3 separate regions of the Homo sapiens genome follow, and regions 1 and 2 are each linked to region 3. Evidence: promoter capture Hi-C in human tissues and cell types (Jung and others, 2019). All regions are on one chromosome and are shown on one strand. Each heading gives the region's core, a stretch centred on a gene start or on the middle of the fragment in contact. The rest is flanking DNA. Distances are from core to core; before and after follow the strand shown.

Evidence for each region. The method cuts DNA at HindIII sites, captures the fragments that hold promoters and counts their contacts. A contact is called where the count stands out against the background at its distance.
Region 1: a fragment that was not itself captured here is called in contact with the fragment with the promoter of GLT8D1 in region 3 in 1 of the 25 tissues and cell types used here (hippocampus).
Region 2: a fragment that was not itself captured here is called in contact with the fragment with the promoter of GLT8D1 in region 3 in 1 of the 25 tissues and cell types used here (lymphoblastoid cells).

The regions. Positions count from the first base shown.
Region 1 is chr3:53,040,166-53,043,007 of GRCh38, reverse strand. The region is part of intron 1 of SFMBT1 (Scm like with four mbt domains 1); the gene reads left to right. Among named protein-coding and RNA genes, the nearest start is that of SFMBT1, 4.5 kb to the left of the region's middle. The HindIII fragment of the contact is 6,201 bases long and covers 1-2,842 here.
Region 2 is chr3:53,089,840-53,092,696 of GRCh38, reverse strand. RFT1 (RFT1 glycolipid translocator homolog) reads left to right here. Exons shown (of 13, transcript NM_052859.4): 12 at 79-328; 13 at 627-2,857. The coding sequence ends at 794. Among named protein-coding and RNA genes, the nearest start is that of RFT1, 39 kb to the left of the region's middle. The HindIII fragment of the contact is 9,550 bases long and covers 1-2,857 here.
Region 3 is chr3:52,704,520-52,707,308 of GRCh38, reverse strand. GLT8D1 (glycosyltransferase 8 domain containing 1) reads left to right here and starts at 1,518. Exons shown (of 10, transcript NM_018446.4): 1 at 1,518-1,862. SPCS1 (signal peptidase complex subunit 1) reads right to left here and starts at 1,203. Exons shown (of 4, transcript NM_014041.5): 1 at 1,027-1,203; 2 at 606-665; 3 at 430-516. The coding sequence starts at 1,062. RefSeq lists a silencer at 1,622-1,791. The HindIII fragment of the contact is 20,736 bases long and covers 1-2,789 here.

The DNA.
Region 1 (2,842 bases), core at 180-2,679, 340 kb before region 3:
AAGTTAAAAGGTTTTCTTTTGTGAAATGATTTCGCTGAATAATTCTGTCTTTCCCGTGTTAAGCTAGCCAGCCAACTGACTGACCAGCAACTAAGCTGGATTTGGTCACTCCACCCAAGATTCACAGCCTCATTAGCCAAGAGAGTAATTGATGACTTAGCTATTATTGATACATTGTTTCTTTTTGTGGCTCTTTTTAAATTTCTTGACTTTTATGTGATCAGATTGTTTAATTTAAAATCTATTACATTTTTAAGAGAAGCAACTAAAGAGATACACGAGAAACAAAATACACAATGAAAGGGAATTTCCTTTTTTTGCTGTTTTGTTGTAAACTCAGATTTTTCCTTTTAAAAATGATTGCTGGCTAGGCACAGTGGCTCACGCCTATAATCCCAGCACTTTGGGAGGCTAGGCAAGAGGATCGCTTGAGACCAGGAGTTCGAGGCCAGCCTGGATGAAAGAAAAGGGAGACCCTGTGTCTCCAAAAAAATAAAAAAATTAGCCAGGCGCGGTGGTGGGCACCTATAGTCCCAGCTCTTCAGGAGGCTGAGGTGGGAGGATCCTTTGAGCCCAGGAGTTCGAGGCTGCAGTGAGCTATGATTGCACTGCTGCACTCCAGCCTGGGTAACAGAGTGACACTGTCTCAAAAAACAAACCAACCAACCCAGTATGATTTGCCTATCCATAATCTTCCTGCTTCTGTAGTATACTTTTGCTTTCACAGTGATACCTAGACTGGGTTTAGCTGTGGAATGGTGGTGTAGCAGCAGGTATCATTTAACTCTAAAGTCTGTAGAAAAGATGAACTATACAAACTTCATTGGCTTTTTATTTTGGCGTCATGTTATGTTCACATTAAGTAAATAGATACAGTCCAAAAACCAAAAGGCCATTATTTAGGCAGACATTTTACATCTTTAATATTTTTAATGTTACATTTTTTCTCTTATAATTTTCCAAAATTTTGCTTTCTTGGATTATTTGGCTTATAACCAATATTTTGGAATAACATAAAATAAAAGAACTTGTAATGAGTAAATGATACAACTTCCTTATGGCAGAGTATTTTTCTTTTAGTATATAGCATTCGTTACCTAACTGGGATATTTTGTATTTGAAAATAATATTTCTGTATATACATAGTTATTAAATGGGATAAAAGTGTGTGGGGATTTTGGTTACTTGCGAGATTTTAAACCATTAGAGTTTGGGGAGTGGGATTTTGATAGGAGTCTCCCATTCTTCAGGGGATACTAACCTCATTGGAAAAGAATTTTTTTTTTTTTTTTTTTTTTTTTTTTTTTTTGAGACAGACTTTTACTCTTGTTGCCCAGGCTGGAGTGCAATGGCACGATCATGGCTCACTGCAACCTCTGCCTCCTGGGTTCAAGCAATTCTCCTGCCTCAGCCTCCCAAGTAGCTGGGATTATGGGCATGCACCACCATTCCTGGCTAATTTTGGTATTTTTAGTAAAGATGGGGTTTCACCATGTTGGTCAGGCTAGTCTTGAACTCCTGATCTCAGGTGATCCACCCTCCTTGGCCTCCCAAAGTGCTGGGATTACAGGCATGAGCCCCCGCGCCTCGCGGAAAATGATTTAAAATAGAAAGAATGTGGTCAGGTTGTTGCAGATTCATGTTTAAACTTTTCAAAAGGGGGAGGAAGGATAAGAACACTGACACATTATTAATAGAAAAATCATATGACTTCACTGCATAAGTCTTAATGATTTGATTGTAAACCTTTTCCTCTAACTCAGAGACACCTGAAAACGTGTATGTAATTATTCTTTCTTTTATTCAAGAGGATGTTTATAACCTTATTTAGTTCTCTTTTGTCTTCAGGCAGTCACTCAAGGAATTTATTTAAAAACAAAAAATAGGCCGGGCGCAGTGACTTACACCTGTAATCCCAGCATTTTGGGAGACCAAGGCAGGCAGATCTCTGGAGTCCAGGAGTTTGATACCAGCCTGGACAACATAGGGAAGCCCTGTCTCTACAAAAAAAAAAAAAAAAAAAAAAAAAAAAAAAAAAATTCAGGTGTCTTGGTGCATGCCTGTAGTCTCAGCTACTCGGGAGGCTGAGGCAGGTATATCTCTTGAGCCAGGGAGACAGACGTTGCAGTGGGCTGTGATCACACCCCTTCAGCCTGGTGACATAGCGAGACCCTGTCTCAAAAAAATAAATAAAAACAAAAAAAAAAGTAGTCTGTATATTGTGTGTTAAATGATGTGTTAAGTACCTGTTGAACTCTGTGGTTTGAACAGTTGAGTAACTTCAGTGAGCCAAGCATGTCACTATGCAGAGAGAGGCTATAAGGTGATATTTCCAACATGATGCACAGTACTGTGTGCATTGGGTCTTTTTTTTTTTTTTTAACTGGCATACTGGTCTGGTGCATTGGTTCTTTTTTGATGTTTTTGCTTAGTCTAGAGAAAGGTTAATTATTAAACTGATGTGGGGCAGATAGGGTTGTTAAGTGTCAGTATCTGTTTATCTGGGAAACTTGGGTTCTGTCTGAGATGGTATTTGGAGAGGATCTTAGATGAGAGTTGGAAGGTGGTTTGTTGGCAGTTGAAAGTGTGGGACAGTCACACATTTGGAATGACAACATGAGCTGGGATGAGAAATTTAGCAATTACTAAAATGCCTCAGGAGTTTTTCTTGCTGATATTCAATTTAAAGTGTTAGCCAACAAGTACTCAGATTTGAATTCCAAATTATTATTTTTTATACCCTGAAGAGTTTTTAAAAAAGCATTTGAGGTGGCTACTATGGAATATTTGCTCAGTAGTAAGGCTGCCCATGGGCTGCCACTGGTTCTTCATTTCTGTTCAC
Region 2 (2,857 bases), core at 1-2,500, 390 kb before region 3:
GTTCATGGCCGCTGTTTTGGGAGCAGCCTTGTCCAGGGCAAGGTCACCACTGCCCTCCTTTTCCTGTCTCCTCCCCAGGTACAATTTTGTGATGCTGGCCCTGTCCTCCTCATTCCTGGTGTTATCCTATCTCTTGACCCGTTGGTGTGGCAGCGTGGGCTTCATCTTGGCCAACTGCTTTAACATGGGCATTCGGATCACGCAGAGCCTTTGCTTCATCCACCGCTACTACCGAAGGAGCCCCCACAGGCCCCTGGCTGGCCTGCACCTATCGCCAGTCCTGCTCGGGACATTTGCCCTCAGTGGTGGGGTTACTGCTGTTTCGGAGGTGAGACTCCCTGAGCCATCATGCCACATGCTTCTGCAGCTGCCCCGCTGTCTCTCCCGCTAGGCCTCCTCTTCCCAGGTTTTTGCCTCCTCCTGTCCCCTCCCCAGGCCTCTAGGGCAGCATCTTCTGATAATGTGACAAGAGAATGTTGCCAATGGGGAAACAATGGACCTGCAGTATGGCTGTTATGCCTTTTATCTGACTTAGAAGCTGGAACCACAGCTGTCTTCCCTGGCTGGTCCCAGAGGAAGGAGGTATAGACTGAGGAACAGGCACTGACAATGGTTTCTTTCCCCAGGTATTCCTCTGCTGTGAGCAGGGCTGGCCAGCCAGACTGGCACACATTGCTGTGGGGGCCTTCTGTCTGGGAGCAACTCTCGGGACAGCATTCCTCACAGAGACCAAGCTGATCCATTTCCTCAGGACTCAGTTAGGTGTGCCCAGACGCACTGACAAAATGACATGACTTCAGGGAAGCCTGGACACCCGAGGCACCTGGACCAGCTATGGGTAGTTCTGTGGGTGGAACACATTCTGTGTAAGAGCCCCACTGAGGGCTCTGCAGCGGAGTGACAGCAACCCCAGAGATGAGGCACCAGAGAGTGCCACTGCATGAGACACCTGTGACCATTCGAAGTCTGAAATGCGGGGGGGGAGTTTCATTTTTAAGTGAAGACCAAAAGCCCTTTAAAAATAATAGTTTTTTATCATTTTATAGTAATCAGCATTTTCTCTTTTACTAATATACTCATTCCTTTTGCGTATGATTGGCCTTTGGAGCTACATGCTCCAACAAACTATATCTTAATTGTTAACTGTTAATAATTATCTGGCCCAGAAAAAGAGATGCAGTGATTTTACCCTTCACAGGAATATTGAACTTCTTCTGTAAAAGAGAGAGAGAAACCTCTCTCTCTCATGCACCACATGGAAACAGAGTGTGGCCCTGAAGTTGTGGCTTTCTTTGTGTCAAAACTGTGGTCTGAGTTTTTAGAGAAGGAAAAATGCTACTCAGTGAGAAATCCAAGAAATGAAACCAGGAAGGTTTTCAGATCACATTTCCCAGAGTGAGTTCGGGAGAATCTTGCCTGTCGTGATCACACTGTTCCCCGCCGCCCCAGGTCAGCACATACTTGACCCAGAGTGGGCTCTCAGGATTTGTTGATTGAAGGGTGGGTGAAAGCTGGCTGGAGACTCCTGGCCTGGCCACCTGCAAGAGGCGGACTTTGAAGAAAACTGTGATCCAGTTGAGCCACTTTGTCCCTGAGGGGAATGCTGCTTTGCAGCTTTCTGTAACTTCTCACATGGGAATTGCACTGGTGACAGATAAGGTTTAACAGATGTACTTTTTTATCCTCAGAATAAGACAAGGCAAACTCTATATGGCTAGTATTACTGAGTCAGGTCCCTCCCGTTGACCCATTAATTCCAGCATTGATCAATACAACCAAATTCCAGCCCCAGGACAAGAGTGGCAGGCATGGGGGCCTGGTACTCCAGGCTACAGTGTGAGCCCAGGTGTTCTGCACCTTGCAGCCTGCACACTGCAGGTGAAATCATGAGCAGTGTTCTGGAGTGTGAAGTGTTTTTATTTTTTTGTTAATGTATTAATTCCTTTTAGATATTAACCCCCCTCAGAACTATATGCACAAACTATAACTTGGATGTTAATAATCCTGTCACTCAGTGCCCCAAACCTTCTGTGTCTACACCTAGAGAGAGGGCCAGTAAGGGCAACTCCTATCATGCATTAAAATGCATGTATTTAAATCTGCTTGCCCAGAGCCAGTACCCAGGGGCTAAGGATTAAGACCTGTCAGTACACCAAGACTGGGGCCCAGTCACCTGGCAGGTTTTTATCTACTCAGAGGGAGAATGCTTTGCACTAAGTGGGAGAAAAGCAGCTAAATGCAAGGTGTCCTGAGCAATTAGAGGACCTCCAAAGCATGGCCTCAGTCATGCCTTCATCGGGCAAGGTCAGGCCAGCTCAGAAAAATGGATGGTCCCATAGGGTCAAGTGGAGCACACACGGAAGGCAGTCCTCCTTCCCTCCCATGTCCTTTCTCTGTCCCTGGCATCCACAGAAAGGGACCTTCAGTCCTCATGAGCTGCTTCTCTGCAGCTGCTGATCACCCTCCCGGAACCCTGCACCTATCCCGTGCCCACCTGACCCCAGACTCAAGCATGATCCTCATTCTACCTGCCTCGGAATCACCTGGATTGCAAGTCAGAACATGGCTTCCCAGGACCCACTCCAGGCCTTCAGGGTCTGTGTCTCCCAGGAGGAGGGCTCTGAGATTGGCTTTTCTGGCAAGCCCACGTGGCTTTGATGCCACCAAGGTTGGCATGCCCCATTGTCTTCCTTCGTGACAGGCCCAGGACCATCATGCTCATGCTCACAGTGCCTGTTCTCTGCTCCAGGAACAGAGCTGCTGCTCTACAAGCAGCCTTGTGACTCCGGGGTCTCTGGGAGCAGGACTCCCCAGGCTTGTGCTCTCTCAGCTTGAGAGAGGCTCTATGTCTGAAGGC
Region 3 (2,789 bases), core at 269-2,768:
AGTCACAGCTACTCGGGAGGCTGAGGCAGGAAAATCTATTAAACCCGGGAGGCAGAAGGTGCAGTGAGCCGAAATCGCCCCAGTGCACTGCAGCCTGGGCAACAAGAGTGAAACTCCGTCTCAAAAAATTTAAATAAATAAATAAATAAAAGGTGAAGGGACAACGTGAGCACCATGAAAACTCCTGCTGGCTTTGACCTTAAGATTATTAGCCAGAGTAGCCGCCAAAGGAAATAAGCTGTGTCCTTTTATATAGTTCGCACCATCTGACACTATTTTGGCATTCTACTTTTCCAATGATAGCAAAGGGAAACGCTGTTTGGAAGGATGAGGGAAACGTTGGCTTTGGGTCTCACTACTGAGTAGGTCTAACCAAACCAACCCGACTCACAAAACCCAAGCTGCCACTAATACCCACAAATTTCTTACCAAACATGAAAAAGCAAATCCGGCCATAACTATATAGACAGTCCACCCGAACTGTTCAGCCACGTACCCGTAGATAAATCCAACTATCTAGAGACAAATGAAGTATATTAAACACACTCAAACTGAGGGTTGGGAGGGAGGCGGGGGCGGAGATTAAATGTAAAACCAATACTTACTGCAGAAAAAAGAATAATTCCCTGAAACATCTGTTCAGCTAGCTTCTGGCCCTTGTAATCCTGGGGTGAAGCAGAGGAAAAAAAGAATTGGTTCCACCGCCGAGAACATACAATTCCTGCCCTGACCTCACAACTCTGGCACAGGGTAACCCCAACATCAGGGTCTCCCGCTCTCCTAAGGGCCTGGGCAAGATATTAAATTCTGGGCTTCCCGGGAGGAACTGAAACACCCTCACGGAGAATGGACAGGAGATTCTCGCGGAGTAGAAGAGAAGGGGACCCAGGAGGCAATTCGGGAAAGAGGGTGGACGGTAACCATCCGGGCCCGGAACAGCGCAGCACCGGGTCGGTGCTCCAACATGGGCTTCGAAGCTGCCAGGCACAAGAACGGCGTGCAGAGGTCCCCGGGTTGCGCCCTCACCATCTGCGTGGGCAGCGAGCTCAGATGCTCCAGCATGGCTGGCTGAGGAGGCGGGCAGCTGAGCGCGGGTGGCAGGCTGCGAGGCGAGGGCGACCGAGACTTAAGGACCGTGAGGGGTAAGGTCTGGCACTGCGCGTCAGTAGCCGGGCCTTCTAAGCCCGGGAGAGCGATGGCGGCGGCCCCGGAAGCGGAAGTCTCCGACGGGCCGGTACAGCCCGTGTCCCCGCCCCGCGCCATCGCTAGGCGACGTGCGCTTTTGCCGCGCCGTGCTGCCCGCGAGGGCAGCTGAGGTGGTGGTGGCGGCCGCCTTGTCGAGGCATCGCGCGCCCGTGAAGTGTTCGCCGTCAGTGCTGTTGGGTGCCTGGAGCCGCGTCCCCCGTCCCGAAAACTGTCCTTGACAGTACTTGCGCGGCCCAACGGCCGCCGGCGCCCCCGCGTCTCCATGGCGACGGCCTTTTTCCCTGCGAGGACCCCGGCGGCAGGGCTGCCCCGCGGCGCCTGCTTGGCGCGACGCTCTAGCGGTTACCGCTGCGGGCTGGCTGGGCGTAGTGGGGCTGCGCGGCTGCCACGGAGCTAGAGGGCAAGTGTGCTCGGCCCAGCGTGCAGGGAACGCGGGCGGCCAGACAACGGGCTGGGCTCCGGGGCCTGCGGCGCGGGCGCTGAGCTGGCAGGGCGGGTCGGGGCGCGGGCTGCATCCGCATCTCCTCCATCGCCTGCAGTAAGGGCGGCCGCGGCGAGCCTTTGAGGGGAACGACTTGTCGGAGCCCTAACCAGGGGTATCTCTGAGCCTGGTGGGATCCCCGGAGCGTCACATCACTTTCCGATCACTTCAAAGTGTAAGGGGGGCCCTACTGACCCTTGGAATTTAGGGGGGCTACCCTAGGCGGCATCCACAACAGAGAGAATTCCCTTGGAGAGGGGACCCTGGTGCTCGGCTGTCCCTCTCATCCGCGTAGAAAGTCCCTCATCTGGGGGCTCCCGAACTCAGCCCTCTCACATTGTGGCCGGCTTTACTGACCCTCACAGACCCAGGCTGGGCCCTCCCGATAGAGGCCAGCCAAAGGTTCACTCAGCCTCTCTTTCAAGGCTGGTGTATCTCTAAATCTTAGACCCTCCTCCGTTACCGTCAGCCAGGTGGGATGCCCACGTTTTGGAGAGAAACCGTTCTGAGGAACCCGGGCCTCTGGGTCCCAGCTGGCTCTCCGGCCCCCAGGTTATGTATTCTGGGTTGGCCACAAACAGTGGAATTCTAGGCACTCCCGGGACAGGGTGGGACTGCTGTCCTCATTCATGCAACCAGCAAATATTCACGGCACCTTGTTTGTGCCAGACAGCAGACCGAGGACACGGTTGTTACCAAGACCAGGCTGTTGCCTTGGAAGAGCCCAGAGCGTGTCAAGGGAGACAGCCACATCACGCCAGAAATACATGACAGCTGGATTAGCCCTGGGAGAGGGAGGCCCAGATGTGGGAGCTCAGGGGAGGTGCAGCTCAACGTGGAGTTTGGAGGAGGCTACCTTGACCTTTGAATGCCAAGTGGGAGCCAGCCAGATGAAAGGGTAGGAGAAAGTGTTTGTATATCCTCAGTGCCCTTTCATCCTTGCACGTGGCAGAGACCAAACAGTAAAATGCAGACACGTTTGACACTTTTCTGACCTCAGAAGGACTCAGGACGTGTAGAAGGCAGAAAGAGGGATGGGCAAGAGTTTATTCCTGTTTCCTTCTCATGCTCTGTATTTCTTGGTGTGTTTGAAGAGACTTTC